2 separate regions of the Homo sapiens genome follow, and region 1 is linked to region 2. Evidence: promoter capture Hi-C in human tissues and cell types (Jung and others, 2019). All regions are on one chromosome and are shown on one strand. The core of a region is centred on a gene start or on the middle of the fragment in contact, and the rest is flanking DNA. Distances in the headings are between cores, read along the strand shown. Region 1 overlaps STK35 (serine/threonine kinase 35). Region 2 holds the start of SIRPA (signal regulatory protein alpha).

Region 1 (6,101 bases), core at 418-2,917, 250 kb after region 2:
TTCGGTGAGCTTACTGTGCTGTTAGCTCCCTGGGAAAAATGCTCTTTCTGTGATGGCAGATGGGAAAAGAACCCCAAGCCAAGATCCTCTCCCCAGTAGAGAGCCCTCTTATTTTCCTTCTTTGTGCCCACAAGAGAGAACCAGACTCAGACCTGTAGGCTGTTCTGAGGCTTCCAACAGGAGGGCCAGAGCCAGTGCCAGAGCTAGAGGGAGCAGGGAGGAGCCTTTGGGAAATGTCAGCTTCACTTCCTGGCATGGGACCCAGTGATTACAGCGGTCATTACAAGCTGGTGTCTCAGGAGTTCTTGCAGAGTGCTGTGCTGTTGGTCTGACCTTCTGTAGTCACACTGTGTTCTGCTAGTTTATTATGTAAAAAGGAACCTCTGGTTTCTGAACCTGCCTCCTTGCCAACACTGCTTTTCAGCTGCCACATGCTACCTTCCTGCTGATGGGCATCCTTTTCAGGAGATTGTCCGCAGGGAGGGAGGAAAGGAATGCTGGAAAGTCATAACTGGTCCCAAAGATTATTTTAGCACATCACATGTGGCTGTATAATTTCTCATCGTATTTCACAAGGTCTTAATGTCTCAGATGGTGAGGGCCTACCCTAAATACCCTCTTCCCCCATCTTCAGGTTGATCTGCTGTGTCTACGGAAAGCACGGAGAGAAAGCAATAGGCATGCTAAATAGAGCTAGAGTTTGAGATGGCTGCTGAATCATCAGGGAATATGTTTATGATGATTTTCTTTTTCCAAGTCAAAAACTGGGATACAAGACCCACAAGTGGATTTTTTTGAGGGGAATTAACAGACCAAGGAACAGAAGCAGCAGAGTGAAAGACTGGGCCCGAGAAATCCTGTATTTTCTTTCCAGATCAGCCACACCCACTTTCTTGGTCACCCGCTCCCTGGGCAGTAGAGCAGGGAGTCACATAGTCTAACCTCCCGTTTGGCAGTGTGGAAGCTCTCCTTTGTCCACTGGGCATGGAAGAGTCCAGACAAGACCCCACATCTGGACCTTTCTATTGGAGCTGCCAGCTTTTCTTGTTCATTAAAGTACCCTATTTTTCCTATTAAAAACTAAAATATAACATTGGTGTGTGTTCATTATTAAAAATCAGAAGTGAGGGAAGAGGAAAATCCAGTCACAACAAGCACAACATGTTGGTGTATTTATTGTCAGATTTTCCTACACTGAGGGGTTTGTGTTTTTACATAGTTATGGTCATGCTGTGCGCTACACAACTTTGTAACCTACCCTTTTCCACCTACCCCAGGGAAGTGCTTTTGTCATAATCTTCAAAATGTCATGCAATGATCTCATTTCCTCTGTAGTATATCAGTGCGTTGAAGGATCATTTGCTTACTTAATCCTTATTTTTGGACTTGTGAGTTGTTATATTTCAGTGAACTTCTTTATCCATAAAGTTCTTTTCATATTTAGGTTTATCTGTTAAGCTTGGCTTTCAGGAGTAGAATTTCAGGGAGCTACCAATCTAAACACCTTTGAAGCCCTAAAAACAGTGCCAGACTACCTTCCAGAAGCCTTATCCCCTCCTCCAGCAGTGTGCGGGGCACCCTCACCAGCCAGAAACACTTTCAGTGGTTGCGTGGCTGAGAACCATGGCCTGTTCAGATTTAACACGTTTATAGTCTCTGGTTGGGGACAGTTGGCCAGGAAGGGGTAGAGTCATTGAGTATGTTTGTCCCTGCTGTGGGCCAGGAACCTGAGTCATTCCACCCAGACCTCAACCAAGAGTCCCCAGTGCTCAGAGGGAGAAACTGAGGCCAACAGACAGTAAATTATCCAATATTGTCCTATCCTGCTGCCTCTTGGGAGGACTGGCCAGGTCCCTTCCCAGGAGCTGAGGACAACGAGCTGGTGTTGTCAGCCCGCACAGGTGGCAAGTCATGGCAGCCACGGTGCTGGCTCTGCCTGACAAAGAAAGGCACGCACAGTGAAAGACTTGTCTGCTTTGGTCATTCGGGCACTTTAAAAACTCCTAGATGGGCCAAGGTAGGTGGATCACTTGAGCCCAGGAGTTCAAGACCAGCCTGGACAACATGACAAAACGTCGTCTCTACTAAAAATATAAAAATTAGCCTGGCGTGGTGGCATGTGCCCTGTAGTCACAGCTACTCAGGAGGCTGAGGTGGGAGGATCACTAGAGCACAGGAGTTCAAGGTTGCAGTGAGCTGTGATCAAGGCACTGTACTCCAGCCTGGGTGACAGAGCAAGACCCTGTCTCAAAAAACCTCCTAGATGATTCCATGTGCAACGAGGCTGGAGCACTGTTGCCCTAGATGGCCCGCCCTGCCCAGGACAGCGCTATACTTAGCACTGATCCGATAGCTCAGAGTGGGCGCTGCCCAAGACTAATCTCTGTGGGCCCTTGTATTCTAGGCCTCCAGTAGAATAAGCCACTGAAGGGCAGGCTTCTTGTCTTATTCCTGAGGCCTGGCACTAAGGCAGTTTCCAAATAATAGCCAACACTAATAGGATCAGGCACTCTTCTTGGTTTTACGTTCATTTAATCTTCATAATAGCCTGTGACGCAGGTACAGGTGATGAGACCAGGGAACAGAGGACTTAAATTCCCCCACAGTCGAGGGGCAGCTCCTGTTTACTCAGTTGCCCGTTCTGGCTCCAGAGCCCTCGTTCTTAACCCCCACAGTGCACTGCAGCAGACAGTGCAGGCCCAGTCCAGCCCTGCCCCTGGGTGTGGGATTCTGGCCCATGTTAAGACCTGAGCAGGTAGCCTGGTTCGGATTCTCAGAGGCCTGAGCTTCACTCTTCTCTTCTGTAAAACAGGATTACTGAACCTAGAGAGGGTTGCTGTGGCGTTTCTAACAAACAGCACAATTAATCACAGAGAGTGGGGAAGAAAGCATGAGTGGAAGCAGTGCTGGCAAGGTCTGTGGGGACAGACTATCCAGGGTGGGCCCTGCGGTGTCTTGCTCCTAATAGTACGGGGAAGCCAGGGTTCAAGATTGGTTTGACAGCTAGAGCCAGCAAGCTTGGGTTCCCAGCTAGTGTCTGCCCCTTAGTCAGTGTGCCCTTGGGTAAGTTACTTAACCTGAGCCTCAGTTTCCCTATCTGAAAAATAAGCATGTGTGAATAAGACCAGGGAGGTTGTGAAGCTAGATTTACCCCATCTCTTTAGAGCTCTGCCCCACAGCCCCCAGCACACACAGCTTCAGTGTTCCTCTGGGTTGAGGGCTGGTGCCCAGGCCTGCTGACCAATGTCCCCTCCTTACCCGCCTTCTGTCTTCCAGGTCGATTCCTCGGGACCCACAGTCTCACCACGTCTCCTCCAGAGGACGGCAGAGGGTACAGGTGGTGGCCTGGCCGGTTGGCGATCTCCCGACAGCTGGATCCGGCAATGTGAAGCTTTTGTTTGGGTTTCCCCGCTTCTTTTTAGTTTTGCTTTATTTTTTTCCTTTTCTTTTCTTTTTTTTTTTTCCTCTTTCCTTTTTTTAAATTTAAACCATTGAGACTTCAGAAGAGCAGGACACAATGCTGTGGACAGGCACCAATTTCTTTAAAGAAATTCAATGTGGGCAAGGCATATGTGTAAATTTCACTTTTACTTTTTATAAGGGGTTAGGGAGCTATTTTTGGTTTTGTCCTTCACTTTCCCTCTGTCTTCCTTCTTTATACTTTTCTCAGTTCTACTTATGACACCTCACTTCCCTAGAGAAGGCCTGCCTCCCCATAGGGAATCTGGGGGTTTCTTCTGGAACGGGGCGTGAGGACACAAGGAGGCCTCTGGGCCACGCCTCCCTACCAGATGCAGGAACTCCTGGACTCCTTGGTGGGCTGGCCCTGGCTAGCCCTTGGGCCTCGGAGATGATCAGAGGTGAAGAACCGCCTGGAAGAGGAAGGCCAGGGTTTGGCCAGGAGAACTAAGAAGGTCTCAACTCCAGGCTTTGTTGTGTTTAAGCTATTGAGAGCCCCAGGCCACACCAGGACTTGCAGTGGTGGGAATCCATTCCTCTTCTGCCCTGTGTTGCAGGGAACTAGGAGGTAAGGGTGGAGGGCGACCATCTCGCTCTTGCTGGCGGTGGAGCAGCCATCCCTGCCTTTCTGTTGGGAAAAACTGTTGTGCCAAACTCTTGTGTGGAACACAGCTGGGTCTTCAGCAGGCATCTGTCACTGCCGTGAGGTCAGCGCTTCTCACCTAACTGCCTCCTGGATTGTCATCTTCCCAGATGTGTCCCATAGTGTCCAGGTGTCACAGAGACGGCCTGAGGCCCTAAGATCTGGTTGTGACTTTGCCATGATAACAGGGTGTCCTGAACTGGCTGCCGTTGTCGTGTTCTCACAGTGAAGGGCGTGCCCTGTGTGCCGGGGTCCATGGTGTCATATGCAGTGACACACACTGTCAAGCGCCATTTCCCTCACCCCTGGAGACTTACTGTTAGGTGCCTGCCCTCAGTATAGACGTATCCAATGGGAAAACAGCGGACCTGCCCAGAGCAGGGAGGTGTCGTGGAACTGGGTAGACCCCCTGCAGCGTTAGGGGCCCATTTGTGGGCTCGCCACCTTCAGGCTTCCCCAGCCATGACACTTCAGCCCCGCCACCCATGCCTGTCTGCTGCAGCCATCCTTGCACTCTCCAGCGACACTCTCGCACCTCCCTAGGGGAAGCTTCCCTCCCCCTGGGCTGCTGCTCTGAGCCCATCTGTTCTCCCCCTGCAAGAAGGGGCAATGCTCTTGTGTTGTCCCTCTGTCTGGACGCGCCTGGCCACTCCGAAGGCTTTTCACCCCATTATGGCCAAATAGTATAGGGCCACTGGGGAGGGGGAAGGGAATCATTTTGTGTTCATTTTTGTTTTCTGTTTCACCTAAACCAGCATAGGATTGATAGGGGAGACGGTTGGCGGGCATTTCCGTTTCTATGTGACCAAGGCAGCAGGGGCTTTTACCTGCTAAGCGGCAATCCTTTGGCCCTGAGAATTTGGGAGAGAACAGTGCATCAGGCCAGGCTCAGCAATATGTTTGCTCACATTCTTTCAGCCTTCTGTCACCCCCCTCAACACCAAACTTTCTTCCTTGTGAGCAGAAGGTTGGCTGCTGTTAGCAGGATCCCACAGTGATAACCAGGCCCTTCCCTTCCTAAGCCAAAACCCATTGTGACTGCCTGTCTCTCCTGTCTCTGACTTCTCAGGCAGCCTCCTGAGTGCACTGAGTTGTATCCGAGAGGGTGGGAACAGCAGCATCCCCTAATTGCAGTACACGGTTCCTTTTCCGCCCGCCACCCTGCCTTTCCTTGGGGGCAGCTGTCTCTCTGTACATGAGCAAATGGGCAAAAACAGTCCCCAAACCCAGCACCCCCCTCTCCCTGGCTGCAGCCCACACTGTAACATCCCTAGTGAGGCTCCAGCCTAATGAGCCCCTTATTTTCTTTTTTTTCCCTCCCCAGGTCTAGTAGCTCTAACTAAAAAGTTCTTGGAGCCATCGTGCTCCCCCTTTGTTATTTTTCTTGCTATCAGAGTAGCAAGAAACAGCACCCCTGTAGGTGACAGGTGGGCAGCCTGGTAGGGGTCGCCAGCCTCCATGCCCCCTCATCTTCCAGTTCTTGCTTAGTGGCACGACCTCTTTCCATAGCATAAATGCAGGCCAGCGTTTTAGCCCCAAGTGCCTGCCCTTGCTTCTTACCCCTCCCCTGCTTTCTCAAACACTTGCCCACCTCAGGCACTCAGCGGGCTCCGCCGTGGTGAGAGAACTGGCCGTGGCTCAGCCCCGGGTAGCACCTGTAGTTTCAGTGCCACTCTCCACTGTCCCCTTGTGGACCAGCTTCCACTCACTGTCACGTCCCCCCTCCTGCGTCTTCACTGGGTCTCAGGCTGCCAGCAGCTCTCTGGTGCATCGTCTCAACACCACCAAGTTTGTAGGACCTGCCCAAGTTCTAGTAGTATTCAAAACTTCAAACGGCAGTCATTTGTTCTCCTCGGCTCTGTGGCAAGGATAGCCCTTTGGAGGGGGACTCTTGACCTCGGCTGTTAGGGATCTGAACTTGGTTTTCCCGTCAGAAGAATCAGCAGGACAGATCGTAGTGCCTTATTCCATTGTCCTCCCCTGGCCAGGCCTCCTGGCT
Region 2 (6,313 bases), core at 189-2,688:
CTTCCCCTCTGGTTGCGCGCCACAGCCCCCTTCTCGCTCCCTCTCCTCCCCGCGCCTCTTTTCCAGGCGGCACCGAAGTCCTTCCTACACACACGCTATTTTTGTACCATCATCTCTTCTTCCTCTCCCCTTCCCCCTGCGTTCACTTACTTCCTTCTTTTCCTTCACCTCGGCCCGGCTCTGAAAGGATCGGGCCCCTCCGGCCCGCACCCACCCCCAAGAGGGGCCTTCAGCTTTGGGGCTCAGAGGCACGACCTCCTGGGGAGGGTTAAAAGGCAGACGCCCCCCCGCCCCCCGCGCCCCCGCGCCCCGACTCCTTCGCCGCCTCCAGCCTCTCGCCAGTGGGAAGCGGGGAGCAGCCGCGCGGCCGGAGTCCGGAGGCGAGGGGAGGTCGGCCGCAACTTCCCCGGTCCACCTTAAGAGGACGATGTAGCCAGCTCGCAGCGCTGACCTTAGAAAAACAAGTTTGCGCAAAGTGGAGCGGGGACCCGGCCTCTGGGCAGCCCCGGCGGCGCTTCCAGTGCCTTCCAGCCCTCGCGGGCGGCGCAGGTCCGGGCCCGGCAGGGACGGGGAGGGGCAGAGCGGGACCGGTCGGGGCTGGGGACCAGCCGCGCGGGCTTCTGAACGGGCACGCTGTCGGAGCCGGAGGCTCGTCTAGTCCCGAGCCCCAGCGGGCCGCGGCGGCTCGCGGGGCCGCCTTCCCGGGACAGCAGCCGGGGCCCGGGCGCCGGCGCGGGGGAGGACGCTGCCCTCCCCGGCCGGGCGCGCAGCTCGCAGCCCTCGCTCCCTCCCCCGGGGCGCGCAGGCGGGCGCTCGCTCGCAGAGAAGGTGCCGGCGGGGCCGGAGCCCCGAAGCCTCCCCGGGCGGCGGGAAGACGGGAGGAGGGGAAAGGGAAGGAGGGAGGGGGTCGGGCTGCCGGGAGGGCGGGGGCAGCGGCCGGGACTGCGGGCCGGGAGCGAGCCCAGCCGCCCGCGCCGTGTGGAGCCCGGGCGGGGCAGGTGGGCAGCGGCGGGGGCGGCTCCGCGCGGCCGGGCTCGGCCGTGCTGCCCCTCGCCCCTGCTCGCGCGGTCCTCTCTCCCGCGCGGTCTGTCGGTCTGCGCGCCGCCTCGCTCCTCGCTCCTCGCTCTCCCCCTCTTTCTCCCCCTCTCGCCTCTCCGTGTCTCTGGCTCTCTGCCTGGCTCCCTTGGGTCTGTTTCTCTCTCCTGCCGCCTCTCTCTGGCCGCCCCTGGCTTTATTTCTCGCGCGCTTGGGGTCTCTCCCAGTCTCCGTCTCTCCATTTCTCCTGGGGGGCGGGGAGGGGGGGTCTCCAAAAACCGCGGCGGCGGCGGCGGCCGCTCCAGGCGCCCGTTCCGGAGTCGGGGGGAGGCCCAGCCGGGAGGGGGGAAGGGGGGGAGCCTTAGTCATTTCCCCGCTCCAGCCTGCTCCCGCCCGAGCGCGCACTCACGGCCGCTCTCCCTCCTCGCTCCGCAGCCGCGGCCCATGGAGCCCGCCGGCCCGGCCCCCGGCCGCCTCGGGCCGCTGCTCTGCCTGCTGCTCGCCGCGTCCTGCGCCTGGTCAGGTAAGCACCCCCCCGCTCCCCACCGCTGCACTCCCCAAACTGCGGGCTCAGGCCTCTCAGACTGGCACTGGGACCCCTTCGGCTAATGCCGAGCAGTAATAGGGGGAGAGACGCCTGTAACCAGGGTTATAGATGCAGAAACTGAGGCCCAGAGAGGGCCAGCGACATGCCCAAGGTCACACAGCCAAGGGTAGAACCCAAGTCTCTTCTATGAGAGTTTGTCTCTGTGGACTCTGACTCTGTGCACTGTGCTGGGCACTGAGACAAAAGAGCCGAGTTGCTTCACTCAGCCCCTGCCCGGTCCAATGGGGAAGGCTGACTGACAGTGGCTTTCAGAGCAGGGCCGTCCGGCTTCCCCAGAATCTGTCCCCATGGACATACGACTTTCCACATGTTTGACTTCAGGGTGTGAGGGGAGGAGGTGAGGGCAGAGGTCCTCCCGATGCTGCCTGGAATGGAACAGAGACAAGCTGTTGCAATTAGGGAAGAGTGAGCCCTCCCTCTGGTGCGCAGAGTAAACCGGTGTTAGTGTGTGCCTGGGAGAGAGGGAGCCGGGAGGCCGCGGTAACCCCAGAGCGAGCTGCTGCGAGCAACAGATCCTTATGTAAAAACACGGTGGATTGTCCCTGTGGTTGCCAAAGCCTCTCCCTGGTGGTCTTGCTCCTTGAGGCGCTCCCAGCTCCCCCTTCCTCCTGCCTTCCCCGAGCTTCCAGGCAGCTCCCTGCAGTTCAGGTGCTCCGCGGGGATGTTACCTGTGGCTCTGACCATGTCTTTCTGTTGGCCTACATCAAACACCTGGCTGTCGCCGGCAGGCGGGCTCTGAAGGCTACTGTGCATGTTCACCAAAGGGTGAGGTCACCATTCAGGAGTCTTGCTTCTTAAATGGGTTTTGCAAAACCATGGGTCTCCTGGGAGGGCACCGGGTGGGGGGCGGGGGGAGCAGAGAAATGGCATTAAGGGAGTTGGGAGGGAGAGAAAAATGGGGATCTTGTTTTTTGTCGTCTTGAAACTGTGTTGTAGGCAGTGGGGTCTCTCTGTACCTCCCACCCTTGAGGAGGGAGGTAAAGATGAGCTCAGTGTCCAACACCCCCTTTTGCGTTTGACTAGAGATGGTAACCATCTGATAGCAGGGAGAAAGGGAGAACTAGCAAAGAGTGGGTGGAAGGAGAAGTATGGGGGGTAGACAGCTGCTTCTCTCTGCCCTGCAGTTTCCCCTGAAACCCAGGAATTCACATAGGCATCCCCCCACCCCACCCCACCCTCCACCCCCAGTTCTTTTCAGTTATAGTTGCGTCCTTGCTGGGCTGAAGGGAGCACTGATACAGTTCACGTCTCTCCAGTGAGTGGCATCTCCTATCTGCTCCTTCCTGCCTGAGCTGGCCATTTGTACCCTGCAAAAGTCCGAGTTCCTGCCCTGCCATCCTTCCTGGCCTGGAAATGCACAAGTGTCACTCACAAGTGCTTAATTTTCCTGAAGCAGGGAATTGGGCCCGAGTTAATTTCTAAATGTCTATTCCAGACCCTTCTCCGACCAGGAGGCTGTGGTTCAGTCCCTGGCAAACGAGCAGTGACGCTGATTAGCAAGTGCTCCGATGGGCAGCCTGCCTTTCCTGGGGCACCGGCTGGGAACACCAACACCTTTCTTGTGAGCACATCTCCCCCTTTTGCCTATAAAAACAGTCTATAAGATGGTAAAGATTGGGCCATAAAACTTCCGTTCCAATCCATTCAGCATCAATAGCCTGAAAAAGTGGGAGCAGCAGAGGGGCCAAGATTAGCTTTGAAATAAATAAATCTTAGGAGGTAAGAATGAATTTCTTGGTCGAGGGTGGTGGGGAAGGGATGAGGTGCGACCATCATAGCTCAAGTCTCCCATTATCCTTCAGTATCTGTTCTTCGGGGTCCTGGTCACACCATGGGCCTGGGCAGGGAAGTCACCTGGTTTGGCTGAAGGATGGGGCCTCAGGCCCCTCCCCCTATTGCTCCAGACATGGAATTTACAACAAAGAAGTAGAGAGACAGGATATGAGGGTAGGAAGGTACAAGGAGGCAGTTGTCCAATTTTCTAAGAAAATGGATTTGTTCGAGTGAGAAACTAAAATGTCAGGTTTAGGAAGGCGGCTTTGGATTGAATGACTACTAGTGTCTCAGGCAGAACTGTCAGCCTGGGAGGTGTCACATGATTCCTGTGTCTTCACATGATCACTGTTTTGGGGGGGTGGGGCCAATCATGTGAATTATCCTGGGTGGGGGAGGCAAGAGAAGAAGTTTCTAAAGATTGCTTTTAGCACAAATGCTGCCAAAGGGAAATTCTAAAAAGATCCCAGTGAAGTCACCAACCTATGTTTTTGGACCCAATGTGAGGCCTGTTTCCTAAAACAACTGCACTGAGGGAGATTCTGAGGCTGGGAGAAGGGCAAGGGACTGAGGCCTGGGGACACCTGGCACCTGATTTTGTGTCAGCAGGGCCTGACGCTGAACCCGCAGGATGCCTGCTTGGCCCCAGGTAGGCCTTGAGACCTCTGAGTCACCCCCCAGGCCGACCTCAGATAAACTCCCATTCATTTCTTCTCTCTGGCCTGGAGGAGGCCAAGCCAAGTTGCAGTTCAGGCTCTGGGGAGCAGCGGGGCCCCCCAGTGAACCTCTCACCGTTTGGTAGAGGGTGGCACTCTGGGGGCTCCTCTGTACTTTCCTAAATGGTAAAGTTAATCTCACTTCCTCTTTCGTAAGAAGAGAAAACGGGGCGGGAGTGCTTTGGCTCAACACATCAGGCTGTTGGAAGTTCCTTTAAAGCCATAGTTTTCTCTGAGTACTTTCTGGCCTTTACCAACCCCTCGGAAACTCACGGTAATTCACGTCTGTACTTGCAGTCATGCAGCACCTATGCAGTGCTGGTGTGAACCATGTGTTGAGAGAAGGGAGGAAAACCAACATTCATTAGATAGTTAATGGCGTTCCAGGCCGGATGCTGCTCCTGCGTCGTCTCACCCGCAAGACATGGATTGGCTCTTCTCCCCATTCTGCAGATGCAGAAAATCGAGTCCCAAACTGGGGAACTAACTTATAAGTGATAGAGAGGAGCCAGGATTTTGGATGCTGGCCTTCCTGCTGGGTGGCTTCTAGGGAAGAAGCTCAATGACTTAATCAGGATGATTTAGTCCAAGCTGGAGAGGGAGTGAGAGAGGCCCCTTTCTGGCCTTGGGTGGAGGACTGTAGAAGAGTTCTTTCTCTGGGCAGAAGGTTTTGATGAAGTCACAGGCATTTCTCTGAAAGCCTGCTGAGGGTGGAAATACTGACAGCCCCTTGGTCCTCACCAGTAACAACACATGAGAGGTGATGTGGCTCCTGTGAGAGCCCCCCATCTGGGCTGCTGAGCTCTGGAGCCCCCAGAGCTGGAATATTCCTCCCTGCATCTTCCTGGTGCCCTTTGCGACAGATGGAGAGGGGGTGTGCGAGAGGAAGGGAGTCTAAAAGTGTTGTACGGATCCCACACGCGCTCGCTTGCTGCTTCCAATGGCTCCGTGCGACAGGTTATTTTCTTATTTGTAGTCTTGGACTGACGGAAGGTTTCCCCCCTCTCTCTCTCTTTTTAAATGTGCTCAGATTTCTGGCCTGTCAACACAACTCAGATCATGTCACTCCCCAGCTCAAAACTGTTGAGTGGGTCCAAGTTTTCTTTAAAAAAAAAAAACAAAAAAACACAAAGCTGCCGTGAGGCCTGGGCTTCCTCCCTGCCAGGCCTGATTTCCAGCCACATGTTTTCCAACAAGCTGACCTGTTGAGATGCTGCAGGATAACCAGGCTTCCTCCCTGCAGACCAGAGCTTTGCTGGCTACTCAGCCACACGAGCACCCCAAAGACCCTGAGAAGCCCTGCAATGTAGAATCCCGAGCTGGGTCACATTTACTCCAGTGTTCCCTGAACTTATGAACGAGAGGCATTTGATTTGTAGTATGCCCGTTAGCATGTGGCCTCTCTCCGTTTGGTAAACGGTTTTCTACAGATCCATGCCCTCAGCTGAACTCTCAGCTCTGTGCCTTGGCCCGTGCTGTTCCTGCCATCAGAAATGCCCTCCCTGTACCTCCTTGTCTTCCTGTGTCTGAATCCTACTCATCCTCCGAGGTTCAATTTAATGTGCCTCCTGGGGAGAGGTCAGAGGAGCCTCTCCACGCAGACACACACCCTGGCCTAGCGCTAAGATGGTGCTAAGACCCCTGGGTGTTGATCTGAGCCCTGCTACTGACTTGGACAATTTGCAGGAATCTGTGTCTCATTTTGCTCATCTGTAAAAGAGGAATGGTATTAACCACTCTATTGCAAGGATTAAGTTAATTAATGCGTGTATAATGCTGGAAGCCATGCCTTGTATGTAGTAAGCACTCAATACATATTAACCAGTGTTGTAATTAGCATGGCTTTATTCTGGTTTGATTCCTCTTTTTTAACAATTGGGACGGATTTTCATAAAACATCTAACACAGTTGCTTACACATAGGGGGTACTTAAAAAACAGCAAAGGCTGTTCAGTGAACAAATGTCCTTCAGCTTGATATTTTCCTTGTAGCTTTTTTTTTTTCTTTTTTTTTTTTTTGAGATGGAGTTTCACTCTTGTTGCCCAGGCTGGAGTGCAATGGCGTGATCTCGGCTCAACGCAACCTCCGCCTCCTGGGTTCAAGCGATTCTCCTGCCTCAGCCTCCCGAGTAGCTGGGATTACAGGGATGCGCCACCATGCCTGGCTGATTTTGTATTTTTAG

What was found. Contacts are between HindIII fragments. The study calls those that stand out against the background at their distance.
Region 1: a contact is called between a fragment that was not itself captured here and the fragment with the promoter of SIRPA in region 2, in 2 of the 25 tissues and cell types used here (dorsolateral prefrontal cortex and lymphoblastoid cells).

The regions. Positions count from the first base shown.
Region 1 is chr20:2,140,508-2,146,608 of GRCh38, forward strand. STK35 (serine/threonine kinase 35) reads left to right here. Exons shown (of 4, transcript NM_080836.4): 4 at 3,277-6,101. It overlaps LOC124900458 (a long non-coding RNA gene), which reads left to right. Exons shown (of 2, transcript XR_007067499.1): 2 at 1-1,091. Among named protein-coding and RNA genes, the nearest start is that of STK35, 42 kb to the left of the region's middle. RefSeq lists an enhancer at 5,190-5,853. The HindIII fragment of the contact is 3,073 bases long and covers 132-3,204 here.
Region 2 is chr20:1,893,969-1,900,281 of GRCh38, forward strand. SIRPA (signal regulatory protein alpha) reads left to right here and starts at 1,439. Exons shown (of 8, transcript NM_001040023.2): 1 at 1,439-1,558. The coding sequence starts at 1,480. LOC102724545 (a long non-coding RNA gene) reads right to left here and starts at 282. Exons shown (of 4, transcript NR_186374.1): 1 at 151-282. RefSeq lists silencers at 403-662, 673-792 and enhancers at 2,084-2,599, 6,225-6,313. The HindIII fragment of the contact is 18,060 bases long and covers 1-6,313 here.